2 separate regions of the Homo sapiens genome follow, and region 1 is linked to region 2. The links are contacts of gene promoters, found by promoter capture Hi-C in blood cells and fetal thymus (Javierre and others, 2016). All regions are on one chromosome and are shown on one strand. The core of a region is centred on a gene start or on the middle of the fragment in contact, and the rest is flanking DNA. Distances in the headings are between cores, read along the strand shown. Region 1 holds the start of ZNF202 (zinc finger protein 202). Region 2 holds the start of PUS3 (pseudouridine synthase 3).

Region 1 (3,720 bases), core at 1,158-3,657, 2.2 Mb after region 2:
AGCTTTATCCATTGACAAAATCTCTTTTCTTCGCCAAACTTGTCAGGCTTCTGAAACTTCTCCTAGGGCTATCGGCGTACTTCCTTGTAAAATCTACTGTTAGCAAAGAACTCTAAGTCCTTTGGCAGGAACGCCCCCATCCTTGATATCTGACCATCCTTAATACCTGGTCAGTGTCCTCATCCTCCATCACGCCCCAGGTGATGTCTGATCAACCTGGCCTGTCTTCAGCAAGAATCCTATTAGGTTGACTTAGCCAGAATCCGCCTTAAGCCTGATGTTTCCCCTTAGTAATTTTCAATCCATCGACGTCCCAAACTCCAAAAAAAGTTCCTTGACTATAAATTCCCACTTGCCCATTCTGTATTCAGAGTTCAGCCCAATCTCTCATCCCTACAGCAAGACTTCATTGCAGTGGTTTCTTTACCTTTCCTGGTCCTGAATAAGGTCTCCCTTACCATGCTCTAACAAGTATCACTGAATAATTTTTCCTTTAACACTGTAATGCATTAAATGTTTAGAAGAAGATGTTTATGTATTATTTATGCACTTAATACCAATATTTTAAAATATTCAATGAGATTTACAGAGAAAAATATTTGGTACACAGTAGGCTTTCATGAAATGTATATTTCTCTTTGTATTGGGTAATTTTATGTGTCAACTTGACTAGCTAAGGGATGCCCAGACAACAGAAAACATTATTAGTCGGTGTGTCTGTGAGGGTGTTTCTGGCCAATATGGTGAAACCCCCTCTCTACTAAAAATACACACACACAAAAAAAAAATAGCTGGGCATGGTGGCACATGCCTGTAATCCCAGCTATTCGGGAGGCTGAGGCAGGAGAATTGCTTGAACCCAGGAGGCAGACATTGCAGTAAGCCGAGATCGCTGGGCGACAGAGCAAGACTCTGTCCAAAAAAAAAAAAAAAAAAAAAAAAGAGAGAGAGATTAGCATTTGAATCAGTAGACTGAGTAAAGAAAATCACTCTCACCACTATGCGTAGGCACCATCCAATCCATTGAGGGCCCAAATAGTATAAAAAGGCAGAGGAAAAGTAAATTCACCTCTCTCTTCTTGAGCTGGGACATCATCTCCTCCTGCTCTCTGGCCTTCAGACACCAGCACCTCAATCCCTTTCCAGTTCTCAGGCCTTCAGCTTTAGACTGAATTATACCACCAACCTCCTTATTTCTCCAGCTTGCAGTAAGCAGATGGTGGGACTTCTCAACGTCCATAATTATGTAAGCCAACTCCTTATAATAAATCTCCTTTTATATGTTTATACATACCCCGTGTGAAAGGAAAGTGATTTGGGGCCCCCAAAATCACTAAAGGGAAAATTCATGCTGGGAACTGCTTAGGGCAAACCTGCCTCCCCTTCTATTCAAAGTCACCTCTCTGCTCACTGAGATAAATGCATATCTGATTGCCTCCTTCCGGAGAGGCTAATCAGCAACTCAATGCAACCATTTGTGTCTTATCTACCTATGACCTGGAAGCCCCCTCCCCGCTTTGAGTTGTCCTGCCTTCTGGGTTCACACCTATTAGTTCTGTTTCGCTAATACACTGCCACTCCACCAAAAGTAACTAATCCTTTGGTTCAAACCCAGTAAACAGATCCCAGCAATGTGTCCCATGAAAAGGAAGTGGCACATGGCACGTGGAGAGTGGTGACTTACAGGGTAAAAGGGACAGAGAGCAAAGGAAAATGTCAAGTATGGGCAGAAAGGTCACCGAACGGACAAAAATGAACAAATGAGATCAGGGAAGACAGCCTGAAAGTAAAGAAATACGAAGCAACACTCAAAGGAAAAGAAAGAACAGTGATACCATAACTATTTTCTTTCTGAGCTTCTGATGTTCCATTCAGTTCATGTGCAATGTATCATTTAGTCCTCAGAGTAACGGTATTATTATGCCCGTTTTATATGATGCACAATAGGGTTCAAAGATGGAGAGATTCGGCCGAGGCCCTGCTGCTGATGGTGACTGCAAGAGCCAGTATTCAAACCTAACGCTGCCCTTTTCTACCATGTTGCAGCGGACAATGCAAAGAAAAAAAAATCAAGAAAAACACGTAGAGGTATCCAAATGAAAACAAACACACAAAAGATCAAAAACAGAAAAGAAAAAAGAAAAGAAAAAGAAAACCCTTGCAGAAGGTATGCCTGTAAATGAAAGGCCCAAGATGTTAATTTATTCGCTGCAGAGTGGAGTTAGGGGTCGCGGACGGCAGCTGTGGGGTCCGAGGCTTCTTCGCACTGGGTCCTTGGGGAGCACTGAGCCGCAACCCGCGGAGGGCGCATAGAGAGGATCAAACCTCCCACAGCCTAGAAAGGCTCCTACTCGGCGAGAAGGCGGGGCGAGCGATCGCTTCCGGTTCCGGGCGCAAAGGCCCCACGTGTTCCGACCCGCTAGGCCCCGCGCGGCTCGGATCCGGCGGCGCTGTTTCGGTCGGGAGTGGGTGGGAGAGAAGCCGGGGCAGGGGAGGAGCCGCCGGAGCTGTCGGAGCCGTGAGTCCTGAGTGGGCTGGGCTGGGCCGGGCCGGGCTGGACCGGGCCGGACCAGATCGGGCAGAGCCGGGCAGGGCGGGGAGGAGGGGGAGGGACCGGAGACCCCGCCCCCCAGAGTCTGGGGAAATCGCCGTGTCCTGGGGAAGGGGTGGCGGCGGTGTACTGAGGGTGCCGAGACGTTGTGGTCTCTGTGTTTCCTGGTGGCCGGAGCCAGTATCTCCGGGGACACGGATGGCGCTCCCGGCTTCCTTTCCTTTCCAGCCACCGCCCTCCGCCCCCTCCTGGGGCCTGCAGAAATGTAGTTAGTCCGTACCTCGTACCTCCTAACGCTTCCGCGCCAACTGTCCCCCCGGAACCGAGGGAGGAGTGGTCTAGGCCCCTTTATTTTCCGCAGCTTTTTCTTACCCCTCCTCTCAGATTGCTTAAGATCATCTCCGCGGGCTCCTTGCCCCGGCTAGCCCCATCTCCTTACACCACCAAGCCCCCCTCAGCCCCCCAGCACACACCCAGATACACTCACCCGTGATCTTGTCACCTGTGATGATAGTAGTCCTTGGCGTCCATTTGGCCAGAGGCTTTTCAGCTGCCACTGTGACAGACCCTGAGGTCCCCTCAAGCCAGTAGCTGCTGTCTCCACTTGCAACTTTCCTCTCCTCCCACTCCTAACAGCCAGTTTTGGCACCTCTTCTCAGCACCTGCGTTACTTTTAGCAGGAGTATACCTACTTCTTGAGTGTCTTGATTAAAAATTTGTTTTTGTGCCATGGATAGGCTGTGTTCCTTCAGAAAGGTGTCAGTCTAATTTTTGTTTTTCTGAACAATGAATGTTCTCATCTTCTAGGCGCTTTGATAACCCTGTCTGCCTTGGAATCTGTACTGACCTCCCCAGAGGGAGACTCTTAGACCCAGCCTTTCTTGAACAACCTTGGTCCTGGGGAGCAGCGCTAGATCCCAGGCTCTCAATTAGAGGCTGGGCTTAGAACTGTTGCTTTTTCTCTATCCACGCTCTGCAGGTGACACCCAGGGCAGCTACACTCAGAAGCCACAAGGAATGCTAGTGGAGCCCCTCATCCCTCCCAGCTTCTCTTCCAAGCTGCCCCGTGGGGCTTGATCCAGGAAGCTACTTCAGAAAGGTTGTGGGATAGCCTTGGGAGGAGGTTTGTTGGTGGGAAGCGTGTGAACGCGGAGCAGTCTGGGATAACT
Region 2 (3,241 bases), core at 500-2,999:
GGCTCACGGCACCAACAAGGGGAGGGTGGCTAGGAAAGTGCGCTGGCAAATGGATGGAAGCGAGGTGAGGCTTAATGGGCAAATGGGCAGAGTAGAAAACTCGGGGTCTAGCTGGGACTACCAGCTGCGTTCCCACCCTGGATTTCCAGGGGTCGTCATTTTTGCCCTTTCTAACCAAAGGTCTTGCCTCTCGTGGGGGTGGGGACGGGGTCTCCCTCTGTGGCCCTCTTCCAAACCCTTCCCGCATCTCCCCTCCAGCATCTGACGCCCCACTTCGAACGCTCGCGGGCTCTCCCTCCCCTCCCAGCCGATCTCCCTCTGCGAGTGGGAGCTCCACCCCCGCGGCTGTGGCCCCCCGGCTCGGTGGCGGTTACGTGGCTGTTCAGCCGCTCGCTCTCCGCCGCCCCTGCGTCGCCTCCCCACAGTAACGACGCCATGGCTGCGATTGCTGCTCCCGCCCCCAGCACGTGCTTCCACCACCGGCGCGAGGCGGTGCTGGCCCCATCCGCTGGCCAATGGGCTTCCTTAGGGGGCAGGCGTCCGCGTCCGCGCCCGCGACCACCGCGGTGCGGCGCGCAGGCGCTGGAAGGCTGGGTGGCGCGCGGAAGGGGCGGAGGGCAGAGAGCGGGGCGGGGGGCAGAGAGCGGGGCGGAGGGCAGAGAGCGGGGCGGAGGGCAGAGAGCGGGGCGAAAGGGCGCGGACCGGAGGGCAGAGGGGGCAGCTTCCGCAGAGTGGAGAGCGCCCCCCGCGCCGCCCCGCGGCCCGCCGCTCACACAGCCCTCCAGGCGGGAGCCCCCCGGACTCCCCGCCGCGCTTTACGCCCCGTGTCGGTTTCCCTGGAAATTTCCGCCTCCACATCACAAGATGTCAGAAAGGTTAGCGAATTGGTTAGCAAAGTGGAGACAAAATCTGATGAATTTGATATGACGAATGACCTCGAATGCCACAGTTGCGGAAAGGAAGCAGAACTGTTCAAGCTCTAACTGCTGTTCCTGCCCTAGATACCTGTGATGTTCCACATAGGCTTTTTAAAGCTTTTATTCTGAAATGTGGTCTCTTGTTAAAAACATTACCTTTCGGTATAACCTCTACGTCCTACATGCGTTTGCATAATCCGGTATAGATCCCTGGATCCCTGGTACTAATGATTTAATGACCGCTCAATTTGGACGAAAGAACCAAATTCCACCTCCCCCCCGCCCCCCAGTTTTCTAATTGTAATTTTGAGATTTTGATCAGCATTTCTGGAATTGGGGGCAAAAATACAAAAACCCACACGAAACTGCAGTCATGATCTCTCCGTGGTGCTGAAGCAACGCTCCCCGCTCTGTTCGGTCACTCTCAGGGCACCTAGTCGTTTGTTTTGAGATTATCATATTCATTTCAGCTTTTAATTTGAATTCTAATAGTAAATGTTTTTGTCTCTCAATGGTAACTTTCTTCTCATTTAACTAGGTATAAAATCGAGCCAAGATCTTCAATCTTTTAGTTTTCGTATAAGGATAGCAGAATTTGAAAAATTACCTTTTTTCTATTATTTTAGCGTAGCACTACAATTCCTCCTTTTATTGCTGTCCCGCCACAGGCCCAGATTCTGCCCTGTGGGCGGAGAAACGGTAGCTGGACTAGAAAACCTCAGGTAGATTCTAGCACCAAGCTCGGTTCTCAGAACTACATTTCCCACAAACTTGGACTACACCTCCCATGAGGGCTCGGGCGCCTGCGCAGAAGACGCACAGTGACAGCTTCCTTTCTCGGAAACGCGGCGCGGCCGGCTGCCGGAAAGTAAGTGTGGGATTTTTGGAGTGGGTTACTTTCTGGGTTCCACAGGGGAAGGGACAAATGGACACACTGCTGAACGGTTGTCTGTTGTCTTCTTTTTGCCCTCTTTCACATACTTTGGTCTTTTCAGGAAAGCATTGCCGTATGGAAATGAGACCTCGCTTAAGACCATGTATTTTTCTTTTGTGCCTGGTACTTTCTGGAGCTCTCGGTGGAAACTCGCCGCAGTAGGGTCGTCTTTAATTCCGTTGTGACGGGAGCTTCAGTGGTACTTGTACTGTGGAGTACAAAAGTGCTCTGCTGCCCCACTTAGAATTGGGTGCTCATAAAACAGTAGAAGTTGAGAACCCAGGAGTATGTGGGAGGCTGTGGCAGCAATTTTCAAATTATTTTGGGGATTGCCTTACATACAGACCACGATTGCTTTCTAGTGATCATAGTGCGTGTCTGCTAATCCTTTGGACAGTACTCCCTCTTCTTCCCTTTGGATTAATATAAAGTTTATCAAGAGGAATGCTATTTATGTGTTAACCCACTGGTTCCTGAGATTAGGACTTTTTTTTTTTTTTTTTTAAGACTGTCGCCCAGGCTGAGTGAAGTGGCGTGATCACTGCTCACTGCAGCCTCTACCTCCTGGGCTCAAGCGATCCTTCCACCTCAGCCTCCAACTAGCTGGGACTGCAGGCGTGCGCCATCTTGGCAGCCTAGTTTTTAATTTTTTAATTAACACACGGTCTCGCTGTGTTGCCCAGGTTGGTCTCGAACTCCTGACTTCGAGCGACCCCCCCTCCCCCCCGCCACCACCCCGTCTTGGCCTCTCAAAATGTTGGGATGACAGGCGTGAGCCACGGCGCCTGGCCCAATGTATGGAACATCTGGTGATGGCCGTTTTAGTTTGTAATTGGTGCTTAGGGGACACACGAATTCCCTCTCTGTGGTTACTTCGCAGCCCTGGCCAGGGTGTTACTTTAAACGTCTGCTTGGGAACTCCTGCACTTCACCCTGAATTAGGGTAAGGTGTGCTGGAAAAAGCACTGTAGTGTACCAAGTCCTGTTTTTGCCACAAATCTGCCTTATGACCAACTAGACTCACTCCCTGGCCTAGTTCTTTAGTTAGCACGGGAGTTGAACTTTGGAGACTTTGGTAATGTTGGACTTTGAGATCCAAATAATCACTGGAGTGTTTTGCATGTTAAAATCACCATGTAATTTTTGACCTCATAAAAAGTCGAGGTATAAATACAAATTACCTTTAATCCCACTACTCGTTAGGTTTTGATCTTTCCCTGTGTGTACTGAGATCATCCTGTATAGTTTATGATACATTCATGTCACTTAATTTCACCTTCCCATATTACTTTCCCAAGATTCCCAATGACTATTTAATATTCTAATGTCTTTAAAGACATTTACTATTCCACTGTTGGTGGACAGTTTGCAGTTTCTACTTTTTTGCGGT

The links. The method cuts DNA at HindIII sites, captures the fragments that hold promoters and counts their contacts. A CHiCAGO score of 5 or more calls a contact.
Region 1: a contact is called between the fragment with the promoter of ZNF202 here and the fragment with the promoter of PUS3 in region 2, in 1 of 17 cell types (naive CD4 T cells). The highest score is 6.4, in naive CD4 T cells.

The regions. Positions count from the first base shown.
Region 1 is chr11:123,740,347-123,744,066 of GRCh38, reverse strand. It overlaps ZNF202 (zinc finger protein 202), which reads left to right and starts at 2,407. Exons shown (of 9, transcript NM_003455.4): 1 at 2,407-2,518; 2 at 3,531-3,650. RefSeq lists enhancers at 1,225-1,822, 2,812-3,021 and silencers at 2,412-2,461, 2,502-2,631. The HindIII fragment of the contact is 6,844 bases long and covers 1-3,720 here.
Region 2 is chr11:125,901,714-125,904,954 of GRCh38, reverse strand. PUS3 (pseudouridine synthase 3) reads left to right here and starts at 1,749. Exons shown (of 4, transcript NM_031307.4): 1 at 1,749-1,785. It overlaps DDX25 (DEAD-box helicase 25), which reads right to left and starts at 447. Exons shown (of 12, transcript NM_013264.5): 1 at 375-447. The coding sequence starts at 437. The HindIII fragment of the contact is 3,679 bases long and covers 1,037-3,241 here.